Linked DNA regions of Homo sapiens: region 2 is linked to region 1. Evidence: promoter capture Hi-C in 16 types of primary human blood cells and fetal thymus (Javierre and others, 2016). All regions are on one chromosome and are shown on one strand. The core of a region is centred on a gene start or on the middle of the fragment in contact, and the rest is flanking DNA. Distances in the headings are between cores, read along the strand shown.

Region 1 (6,203 bases), core at 2,805-5,304:
AACACTGAAAAGAATACCCCTCATTTCACAAAGCCCAGCAGCACTGTGACAACTGTGGAAGTGATGATCATGTACACTGTATCCCTTTGATAAAGCCAGAGTGGAAACAAAGAACTTATCCAAGGACTGGATCAAGAAGTTGGGAAAGGAGATGCAAATTCTATGCCCTGTCTCAGCATGAAAACAGGCTGATGAAAAGGGACCTCACTGCTTCATAAGTAACTTTCACACTTTTGTACAGTATGACTGTCATGCAGAATTTATCCCAGTTTATGACCTAAAAGAAGGAATCAAGTCCTTGCTTATCATTCTCAAACAGGTGATAGACAAGATGAAGAATATCAAGAAGAACCACAGTTCAGCCTAAAACCCCACATGTTCACAAAAGACTGAAGAAATTACTGAAAACCTTTTATTAATATTTCCTCAAATATTCTCTTGTGCATTCTTTTTATTTCAAGCTCCTGCTCCCTAGAAAAACCTGTGGTGCATATATATGTATATGTGTGTGTGTGTGTGTATATATATATATATTTTTTTTTTAAACCAGTTCTGTTCATAGATGAAACTCTGAAGTAAAGAGAATCAAATACTTAAAGTATTCATTATCTTGAAAAATGAAGAACTGACATATATAAGCACCCTTGTGTAATCAAGTGCTAATTCTTGGTATGCAAAGGAAATAGTACAAGATTCAGGCCAGCGCAGTGGCTAACGCCTGTAATCCCAGCACTCTGAGAGACCGAAGCAGGCTGATCACTTGAGGTCAGGAGTTCGAGACCAGCCTGGCCAACATGGTGAAACCCCATCTCTACTAAAAATACAAAATTTAGCCGAGCATGGTGGCGTGTGCCTGTAATCCCAGCTACTCGGGAGGCTGAGACGGGAGAATTGCTTGAACCCGGGAGGCGGAGGTTGCAGTGAGCCGAGATTATGCCACTGCACCCCAGCCTGGGCAACAGAGTGACACTCCGTCTCAGAGAAAGAAAAAAAAAAAAAAAAAAGAAAGAAAGAAAGATATAAAAGAAATAGTATAAGATTCATAACCTTTTTAAAAAGTTACTTTAATCAGTGTTTCCATTTTATTCTTCAACTATTGGTTATCTTATTCTATCCAATAAGAGCACAAATGTAGTTAGTACACCCTTCTGCCACACGTCAGCAGAAAATTCCCAAAAGCAAATCCCCACTTCCTCTATAACGACCAATTCCTAAAGACAACTTATCTTCTTTCTCTCTTTTGTATGGGTTTCTCAGAGGTAAATAGCATGCAATGTTTTAATACAGTGCTAGGAACATAATTAGACTATGGTCCTAGTATGCTATTATTTTAACTCTGCCAAGTTTCAGTTTTGGTTCCTTGGTATATAAAATAAAAGACTGGAATCTAAAGTTCTCTGAATCACCTTTCAGTACTGACACTCAATGAGGCATACCGTACACATACAAGTAAAAAAATAAGCATAGCGTTGTGGAAAGAATAAACAGACCTGAGCTAAAACTCCCCCGACACCTATGGGTTGCCTGGCATTGGACAAATTATTTACTCTTAGAGACCTCTTTCCTTATTTGCTACCTACCTATTATGACCAACAAATAAAAGAATATAAATAATTTGTTAAAAGTGCTTAGCATGATAAGGCCCCAATCCTCCAGTAAGTGATTCACTCTCACTTACCAGCAAATTTTCACTCTTGACAGTTCTTTCTTTGGGGGGTTGGGGAGGGATGGGGAGGAACAGAGTCTCACTCTGTTGCCTGGGCTGGAGTGCAGTGGCAAGATATCTTGGCTTACTGCAACCTCCACCTCCCGGGTTCAAGCGATTCTCGTGCCTTAGCCTCTCAGACAGTTCTTTCTTAATACTTTTTTTTTTTGACTATTTATAAACAAACTTCAGTGACTAGACAGGATTTACAGTTTAACAAATTAGGGGGTAATTTCATTCTAACACATTCAGAACTACTTTATAAACATATATGCAGAATAACAACTCAGAATAACAATTTAGAACTGCCAAATAATGTATTCGGTGCTGCACACTGCCGTAACAGTGCCTTAACAATTTTACATACCTTGTATACCATATAAAACTGAAACAGAACTTCATAAAAAGTGAAATCTATCCACAACGTGTATGACTAACTACAACATTAGATACAAAAAGGGTCCCTGTCATTTTATTAGGGGATATAGAATCTTTTGAATCAATGCTTCCCCTTTTTTACCATCTTTGCAGTTCAGAGTTCCAATTACTGCTAAACAAAATTAACAGAAAGCAAACTCCAAGAGACTTTCAGTAAAGAAAGGCTGAACACCCCAAAATCATTCAGCATATTTACAATATGTAAATTATCACAAAGCAAAACCTTTATACAAACCATGAAATACAGCCCAATAGAGTAAAAAGCCCTAGGATAGAAAGTAGTGAAAGACTCATTAACAGTAGCGTTGACACATGGCTTCAATTGCAACTGTAACAATTGCATGACTGATCTGTTTGTCAACTGTGGCACGTGTTCCCAGTCAGGGGTTCTGCTAATTGAAAGTTAGAATCATAAGACATTTAAAGATTGTGCAGGAACAGCATTATTCGTACTTGGTACTAGAAAGCAGTAAACCGATTCTGACTTGGTTAAATTTAAAAATCTCTTTCAGTTGTAATACACAAGAACTTCACTGTTAGGCCGTACGCGGTGGCTCACGCCTGTAATCCCAGCACTTTGGGAGGCCGAGGCGGGAGGATCGATTGGGCCCAGGAGTTCGACGTCGGTGAGCCATGATCGTGTCACTGCACTCCAGACTGGGCGACAGAGCGAAACCATACCTCATTCGTTCATTCATTCATTCATAATTAATAAAATAAGTACAACGCACTTCTACATAATCTAAGCGTATGGAAATCCACGGTATAAACCGGTCCATCCTCCACATGGAAATTAACTTCGGCTATATTATCTCCTCCACCTAAGAGCCAGTGCCTGAAAGCCCCCCCGAATACGCTGATGTAGCTTTTTACTGTATCACTTAGGTGAAAAGATTCTTTCCTTAAATATGAAAAGAAAAACTATGTAGTAATGACACAAAAAGAATATGTTAACTGTAAAGTCAAGATTATGAAATGTTCCCGTGGCTCAGTTTTTTTAGGAGCAATCTGGAGCTGCGAATTTTCCCGTCGCCGCCAGCTGGACCGACAGACAAGGCTGGAAAGGGTTATCAACATACCTGGAGGAAGCTGCAAATTAGCAGGAAACTGGATTGTCGTGGTGTTGGGGGCTTTCACGGCGACTATCTGAGGAGCAGGCAGCCTAGGGCCGCTGCTGACTTTAGGAGGGGCGCTGACCGGAGCCACTTTGGTCACCAGGGTCCCCACGGGGGACCGCAGGGGCTGGGACGCCGTGGGCTCCACGCAGACGCTGACAGGAGCCTTAGTCACGGCGCCCAGGGCCACCGGAGTGCTCTCCACCCGCACCGGCAGCGCCCCGGCCGGGGCCATGGTCACGGTCCCCGAGGCGCTCACAGCAGCCGGGGGAGCGGCGCCGGCGGGTTCGGTGAGGCCGGCGGGCATCCCCCAGGGGCTCAGCGGCAGCTTTGGCGCTGCGGTTCCGGGAGCAGAGGTGAGGGGAGGCTTGGCGCGCGGCAGCCGACTCCGGTGCGGTTCGGGTTCCACAGCATCGCTGGGGAGAGGCGCGGGGGCCGCAGCAGCGAAGTCAGTGACGGGCGCCCGCTGCACGGCAGGACACGCGCGTCCCGGACCTTCCTCTCGTCCGCGCGAGCCTGGGCTGCCCCCGGAGCGACACCCGCCCGACCTCTCGCAGCTTCCTCAGCGGCGCTCACACGTGCGCTGCCTCAGCCCTGCGCCTCAGGCTCGGGTCCCGCTGCGGGGGAGCCTGGACTTGCGGCTCCCGGAAGGTCGTCGCTCACACCTCGAGCCTAACTGCGCAGCTGCTCCCCCGCCAGAAATTTCAAAACTACGAACCCCGAGTGCCCACAGCCCCCTACGCGCGATTGGCACGGCCCCGCCGCGCGGCCACGCCAGCCATGTTTATATAGCCACGCGGAGACCTCGCGCACGCGCCCAGGCCGCCGCCACCGCCCCGGGTTTCCCCGGGATCCGGCCGCGTGATTGGCCAAGGAGCGGAGCCGCGCCCGTGACGTCACTGGGGACGGCTCCAGGGAGCGTTAAAATCTTCCCCAGAATCGCCAGCAAGGAGGGGCGATGCCAGAAACCTATCACGTGGGAGGGGCAAGCTGCACTTGGAAAACTGCGGCATCCGTGTTCCTCTCCTTGTGTCCCCTGTAGTGTGTTCCTCGAAAAGCCAGCACTAGACTATCTCCAGGATTCTATTTTTTAAGGAGAAAATGGGGAGGACTGATTTCCGAGAAGAGTGACTCAATAAGAATTCAATCACGCATTTTCAGTGTTTTTCTCTGCTGTCTTCACACTGAAGCGTTGCTAAAATTCGCAGTTAGAATTGACATTGTAAAAATTAAAATGGCGTATAGTTTTATAGTCTGTGAGATGTGCCTATTTTCATATTTTAGAGTTAAACTGCCTAAAATCTTAAATGGAAAATCGTTTCTTCTTTGGTGCTGCTATAGGTGTCTCTATCACCTCTAAACATTAAAATTGTATGTCTGTCTTCTGAAAAACTTAATGCCTTTTGATATCTATATAATTAGATTCTAGCACTTAGATATTAAGCGTGATCCTAGATATTATCTGGATAAATAAAAGGTGTTGAGTGAATCGATATGAAAAAACTTGCCTGTTTGTAATGCAGTCAGAGAAGATGCCTTAATTTCAAGCTAAAGTCATTATATTGTATGTTTGTAGGAACCAACACTGCACTGAAAGGCGATTTTACAAGTAGGCAGATGCTATGATCTGAATGTTGTGGTGTTTTGTTTTGTTTTGTTTTGTTTTGTTTTGTTTTGGAAACAGGATCTAACTCTGTCACCCAGGCTGGAGTGCAGTGGCACCATTGGCTCATTGCAGCCTCCACCTCCTGGGCTCAAGTGATCATCCTACCCTCCTACCTCAGATTCCCGAGTAGCTGGAACCACAGGGGAGCGGCACTATGCCTAGCAAAAACGGGATCTCGTTATATTGTCCAGGCTGGTCTCCAATTCCTGAGCTCCCGCCTGGGCCTCCCAAAGTGCTAGGATTATACCCCCAACTGAGTGTTAAAATGCTAAAGCTGGAGTTGATAATATTAGAAGGTTGGGCCTTTGAAAGGTGATTAGATCATAAGGGTGGAGCCCTCATGAATGGGATTCCATTCAGGACAAATCATGTTAAAGTGATGAATATGTTAACTTGATTTAATTATTTCACGACACATACAAATGTAACATGATACCTCATAAATACATACAATTATTATTTGTTAGTTAAATACATTAAATAAATAATTTTTTTAAAAAAAGAAACCTCAGAAAGATCCCTCACCCCTTCCAGCAAGTGAGGTTATGGTAAAAAGACTGCTGTCTAGAAAGTAGACTCTCATCAGATACCACATCTGCCTTGATCTTGAACTTCCCAACCTCTGGAATTATGGGACATGAATTTCTCTTTTTATAAGCTACCCAGTTTATGATATTTCATTATAGAAGCCCGAGTGGACTAAAATAGCAGGCAACCTGATGGTTACAGCTCCTGCTTTTCCCCCTCTCTGTAAACGTGTGCCGGCACGTTTAGATAAGATCTACTCACAAGATCTAGTAAAGTCCACACACTTACTACCTTTACTGTCTCTCACTTCTTGACCAGTCTAAATCCATCTCATGACCTAAACCAATCACCCTCCCTTTCTATGGTGAATTCCCTGATCACTTACCTTCTAGCAAATGCCTCAAAGTGGAGTTGGGGAGAGAAAAACTCAATTTATTGAGCACCTCCTGTGTGCTGGTCACCAAGAGATGCATTTCCTTTTTCTAACTGCTTCATTTTACAAACTTAAAAACTGCAGTTAAAAGAGTAATGTTTCCAAGAAGCTGGAATTCAAACTCATCAGTATGATGCCAAAGTACATCTCTTTCCATTACTCCAAAACGTCTGATTAATCATGTATCCCACAGTGCCCTTGGCAAAATGCCTTGAGCATAAAAGGCATTTAATAAATACTTGCTAAGGTAATGAATTGAATGAAGCTATGCAACATTTTCAGTGAAGCAAAATGGTGTAGTGTATTTGAATCTTAGAT
Region 2 (6,199 bases), core at 3,505-6,004, 5.7 Mb before region 1:
GGAGTCTTGCTGTATTGCCCAGGCGGGAGTGATCTTGGCTCACTGCAACCTCCACCTCCCAGGTTCAAGCGATTCTCAGCCTCCCAAGTAGCTTAGACTACAGGTACATGCCACTATGCCTGGCCAATTTTTGTATTTTTGGTAGGGACGGGTTTCACCATGTTGGCCAGGCTGGTCTCGAACTCCTGACCTCAGATGATTTGCCTGCCTCGGCCTCCAAAAGTGCTGGGATTACAGGCATGAGCCACTGTGTGCCTGGCCTAATTTGCTTTGTTTTGACATTGAAAGAATCCTGACTAAAAGGTCTGCTACTATGGTCACAGTAAATATTGTCGACAAAAAGTATCAAACTCTTTAAAACATTTAAAGAGGATTATTCTTTTTTTTTTTTTTTTTAGACAAACTCTCACTCTGTTGCCCAAACTGGAGTGCAATGGCGTGATCTTGGCTCACTGCAACCCCCACCTCCCGGGTTCAAGTGATTCTCCCACCTCAGCCTCCTGAGTAGGGGACTACAGGCACGCGCCACCATGCCTGGCTAAAATTTTGGTATTTTTAGTACAGACCGGGTTTCACTATGTTGGCTAGGCTGGTCTTGAACTCCTGACCTTGTGATCCGCCCACCTTGGCCTCCCAAAGTGCTGGGATTACAGGTGTGAGCCACCGTGCCCGGCCCTGAAGAGGTTTATTCTAAACAAAATATGAGTGACCAAGGCCTGAGGCATAGTCCCAAGAGGTACTGAGAATATGTGCCCAAGACTGTTGGGTTACAGCTTGGTTTTAATACAATTTAGGGAGACATAACACACCAATCAATACATTTGGGGTATACATTGGTTTGGTTGGGGAAGGTGGGACAACTTGAAGAGGGTTTGGGGGAGGGCTTATAGGTCATAGGTGGATTAAAAGATTTCCTGATTGGCAATTGGTTGAAAGAGTGAAGTTACTATTTAAAGACCTGGAATAAACAGAAAGGAATGCCTGGATTAAGATAAGGGGTGGTGGACACTAAGGTTCTTATTATGTAGATGAAGTCTCCTAGGTGGCCATCCTTAGAGACAATAGATGGCAAATGTTTCCTATTCTGACCTGTAAAAGGGGCTAGACTCTCAGCTAATCTCTTCAGAATTGGGAGGGCCTGGAAGGGGGAAACATCTAATTATGTTGATAGAGATTCTTTTTTTTTTTTTTTTTTTTTTTTTTTAGATGGAGTTTTTTGCTCTTCTTGCCCAGGCTGGAGTGCAATGGTGCGATCTTGGCTCACTGCAATCTCTGCCTCCTGGGTTCAGGTGATTCTCCCGCCTCACCCTCCAGAGTAGCTGGGATTACAGGAGCCCACCACTACGGCCGGCTAAATTTTTAGTAGAGACGGGGCTTCACCATGTTGGCCGGGCTGACCTCAGGTGATCCACATGCCTCGGCCTCCCAAAGTGCTGGGATTGCAGGTGTGAGCCACTGCACCCAGCCAACAGAGATTCTTAACAGATGCAATTACCTCTCTCCCCACAAAATAGCTTTGCAGGGGCATTTCAAAATACGGCAAAGAAATATATTTTGAGGTAAAATACTTTGATTTCCTTTATCTGTCATGTGATGTTATGCCAGAGTCAAGTTGGAAAGTAAGCCATATTATATAAGTTTACATAAAACCCATCTGATAACTTTTCTTTTTTTTGAGACGGAGTCTCGTTCTGTTGCCCAGGCTGGAGTGCAGTGGCACGATATTGGCTCACTGCAACCTCCACCTCCTGGGTTCATGTGATTCTCCTGCCTCAGCCTCCTGAGGAGCTGGGATTACAGGCACACACCACCACGCCCAGCTAATTTTTTGTGTATTTTTGGTAGACGGGGTTTCACTATGTTGGCCAGACTGGTCTCGAACTCCTGACCTCGTGATCCACCCACCTCAGCCTCCCAAAGTGCTGGGATTACAGGCGTGAGCCACCGCGCCCGGCCCATTTGATAACATTTTATGTTTTGTAGGGTGTGACTCCACAGGCCCCTTAGATAGGAATTCGGGGAGGAGGGGAAAAATGTCAGAGTTAAGTCCTCAGTATCATCTCCTTTAAGGTGTTTCCACAGTTCAAACAGTACCTTGTCAAAAGAAAGAAGAGACCAGGATAGACTACGAAAGAATTAGATTTACACAGTGAAGTTACTCACTGGAAACACTGTGTATGGGTGTGGTATTAGATTGTGAAGTCAGGCTGGGTGTGGTGGCTCACACCTGCAATCCCAGCATTTTGGGAGGCTGAGGCAGAAGGATCACCAGAGCCCAGAGTTTGAGGCCAGCCTGGGCAATACAGTGAGCCCTCATCTCTATATATTAAAAAAAAAACAACAACTGCAAAGTCAATGCATAAGACAAAAATCCATTTAGGCTCAGCCATAAAAAGGAATGAAGTAATGATTCATGTTACAACATGGATGAACCTTTAAAATATATTGATGAGTGAAGTAATATGTGTACAAAGGCCACATATTGTATAATTTCACTTATATGAAATGTCCAGAATAGGTAAATCTACACAGACAGAAAGTAGATTAGTGATTGCCAGGAGTTGGAGGGCATGGCAGGGTGCAGAATGATAAAAGCCTGTACAAGCCTTCTTTTTGGGATGAACATGTTCTGGAATTAGATAGTAGTAATGGTTGCACAACTTTTGGAATAAACTGAAAACCAATGAATTGTACACTCATCTGAAGGGGTAAATATTATGGCATGTGAATTATATCTCAGAAAAATCTATTTTGGCTAAATTACCATTGAAAGTCCTTTTCAAAGAGTCTAATTCAGCTGTTTTTACTTTCAGCATAAAAATAAATGGCCTTTGAAACTTTTTAGAGTACTAGATAAATAGTATGTTTGCATTTGGGAGTCCTGTTATAAAAAATGTATCTTATAACTTGAGTCACACTAAATTATGTGAGATTCTCACATTATAAAGGGTAAGGAAGTGAATCAGAAGCATTGAAAAGGGATTGTGTGTAACATGTTATCTCTTGCAAAAGGAAATTAAATTTTGGGACCCCAAACTGATTTAGCCAAAGGGAAAAGTCACGCTGGGACTGGTCACGCAAATCTGCCTCCCCCTTTTGGTTCCTAAATAAGATTGCTGCAAGATGAAAAGCTACATCTCTCCCCCGTATTTTGCCCACAAGGAAATTCTTAGTGTGCTGTTAAAACTTCATGGCAATGCAAATTGATAGCTTATCTTTACAGGTGGCCACCCCAGCCCGCCAGACACAAATGCCTATCTGATTGTTCCCCTACCCCATTTTGTCTGTTATCTTATGAAAAATGCAGACTCCCACATTCTTCCTCTGCCCATTTTATGTCATCTTATGTAAAAAATGCAGATTCACTGAGCCAGAGAAAGGCAAGAATTACTATTTTCTCCTACCGCCCCCTTACATGAAAACGGTGTGCTTCTCAATATCCCGCCCTTTCCCCTTTAAATTTGGAGCACTCAAAATCATCTTCGAAGAAAGGCATAGACCTGTTTCCTGGGCTCGTACTTAACTTCGGCAAATAAATCTCCTAAAGTGATGGACTCTCTTATAAATTAATCTGTAGCCAAGGCATGTCATCAATATGTCCTACTGTGCCTTCCTACCTCCCATTTATCAACTTACATGAGAAGCACACATCTTACTTGTCATAAATTATTACCTTAGTGAAAACCTGAGGGTGTCAAGAAGTCGAAAAATTTGAGACATTGACGTTGGGGAAGACACCTTTAATTAGAGCACCATAAAATCATGATAGAATGATACATTTTTCCTTGCCTTATATTTTTGGCATGCAAAACAGAAGGAGCTCAAACAATTGAGTGACACATTAGTAAAATTCCTTTCATTCATTTCTACTTACAAGGCACACACCATTGACCTCACCCCGTCCCCCCCTTTAAAACAATATTTGACCCGCGCCCCCCCCCCTTTAAAGCAATCTTTGAAAAGTTAGGAATGAAAGCCGGTTCAGGACAGTACACAGTACACAAATACTGGCTTCCCCTACCTCCACCACAAGCAAGTAAACATCCTAGCACAGTGTAAAAAGGAAGAGGCTGAGGACGAACCACGCGGACATTTGCAGGCACACCCCTTCCCTGCGACCAACAAAAATGCAGTAGCGCAATTACACTTGAAGGAATTGCAGCACTCACAAAAGCACACATTCTGTTCAATGGTTGAGTCCACATAAAGTGACAGTCCGTTTCTAAAAGCATGGCTGTATTTAAAGGACACATGGTCTGTTCAGGTCCGCTTCAGCGAAACCCCAAGCACTTCCGAGAGATCCACTCCCTCTCTCCGAGCAGGTGCCACTAGCTGCTCCGCCGGCGAGCGTAGGAAGCAGCGCGACCAACCAAATCGGTTGCCCACAACAGCCAGGGACGTCAAAAAGGCCAAACTGCGTGGGAAGCGAGCGTGCGCCTCCATCACCACGACAGCACCCGTCTCGAGGCTCCACCTGCCGCTAGTAGGTGGCTCTCAGCTCTGCTCTGCTAAGGGCGAGCTTGAGAACCCGGCCTACAGTTGTGCACCTCCCCCCGCCCCCGCCCCCGCCCCCGCCCCCGCCCACCGCACTTGTAGCCCCGCCCCGCCCAGGGAGCTTCCGTCACAACACTTCCGGCTCCAGCCTCCCAACCGGCCTCCGTCGTTTTTCACTTCCCTCTCCTCAGCTCTCTTCCCTTGCCCCTACCGTCTCCTTTAACACAGTCACGTGAGGGACGCGCGCGGGGGCAGCTGGGAGTAGTACTGCCGGTTGGTCAGGGTTCGGCCTCAACATGGCGGTTCCGGCCGGGCAGTGACCAAGGTTTTGCCGTCCGAAGGACTAAGTGGTGACTGTCGGCGTCTCCACCTATCGGGGTGGAATGCGAGCACGCGGGGACGAGCGCTGAGAAGCGGCGGTGACGGGAAGGGGGGGGTCAGTGGATTGTGCCCCAGAAACCGAAGCGGCGGCGTCTGTTCCTTCTTGTTTCTAGGCTCCAGTGCGTTCGGGGCCCCGCCCGGCCGGGCCAGGCCGGCGGGCGGCGGCGGTAGCTGCTGCAGCCGCAGGATAACCTCGCAGGGTGGGCCGGAGGGCGGGCGCCGCCGCTGCCTGTGCTGCGGCGATGGCCCAGTGTGTACAATCAGTGCAGGAGCTAATCCCGGACTCCTTCGTCCCCTGTGTCGCTGCGCTGTGCAGCGACGAAGCCGAGCGGCTCACTCGTCTCAATCACCTCAGCTTCGCGGAGCTGCTTAAGCCCTTCTCCCGCCTCACTTCCGAGGGTATGTGGTATCCTCCCTTTTCCAGTGGGCTCCCGCAAAGCCGTGGTCGGGAGAAGGAAGTTGCGGGCGGGCAGGGAAGAGAAGGGCAGTGTTTACGTCCTGGAGCCGGTACCGTGGCGTCTGGGGCTGTGGCCCCGCGGTGCTCCGGGGGCGGCTGGAGGAGGGACCGTGAGGTTGTCAAGACAGCGCAGTCCTAAGCTCCAGTTTCTCTGGGCACTTCCTTTCTTCCTCGGACAACCTAGGTCGTTAAGTAATTGGTGCAAAGATAAACGTGAGTCTTCGAGAACGGCATTGAGACTGTTCTCCACGGCCATAGCGAAGGAATTAGGCACTTGCAAAGCAGCTAAGGTAGGAAAATGCTGCCTCTTAGACCGACAGGGTCTGAGTAAGGAAGACCTGTCATCCTCCCTTGGATGTTAAACTGGACTTTGAAAGTAGTTGTGGATGTTATTACATTCTTGTAGCGTTGAGGGTCATCTCTGTCTGAACTACCGTGTAGCTGTTTTACTAATATATTCTTAGCTATACGGTATTTTGCTTAACCTCTCAAGAAAATTAAAAGTATTATAAGAAGAATAAAACTTGAAGCAGCTTTTTGCCCTAAGGAAGAGGAAGCAAGCCCAAGTTGTGGTTAATTTAACCTGGATATTTGGAGTTATCTATAGTTATAGGGATGGAAATGTCTTCTCTTGTTAATGAATGTCTTGTTAAGAAGCTACCCGTTTTCTCCAGTTTTGGATTTTTTTATTAGGAGAAAATAATGTGGTAAAGCTTCAAGCATGTTTTAGCCAATATCTTGCAAACAACAAAGTCCAAGTAAAGTTTTTTTTGTTAAGGTCGGTAAGAACTGAAGGGTTTCATAATAAGCCTGTGTCAGGCAAACGACTGTGATGTTTGTTAGCTTAATATGACTTATCCACAAAAA

What was found. The method cuts DNA at HindIII sites, captures the fragments that hold promoters and counts their contacts. A CHiCAGO score of 5 or more calls a contact.
Region 2: the fragment with the promoter of TRAPPC8 here is called in contact with the fragment with the promoter of TAF4B in region 1 in 1 of 17 cell types (naive CD8 T cells); the score reaches 5.1 in naive CD8 T cells.

The regions. Positions count from the first base shown.
Region 1 is chr18:26,224,296-26,230,498 of GRCh38, reverse strand. It overlaps TAF4B (TATA-box binding protein associated factor 4b), which reads right to left and starts at 4,054. Exons shown (of 15, transcript NM_005640.3): 1 at 3,223-4,054. The coding sequence starts at 3,565. RefSeq lists a silencer at 3,415-3,574 and enhancers at 4,225-4,324, 4,355-4,424. The HindIII fragment of the contact is 8,704 bases long and covers 1-6,203 here.
Region 2 is chr18:31,941,683-31,947,881 of GRCh38, reverse strand. It overlaps TRAPPC8 (trafficking protein particle complex subunit 8), which reads left to right and starts at 4,754. Exons shown (of 29, transcript NM_014939.5): 1 at 4,754-5,274. The coding sequence starts at 5,118. RefSeq lists enhancers at 255-938, 939-1,622, 4,770-4,979, 5,081-5,859 and a silencer at 5,030-5,149. The HindIII fragment of the contact is 12,839 bases long and covers 1-6,047 here.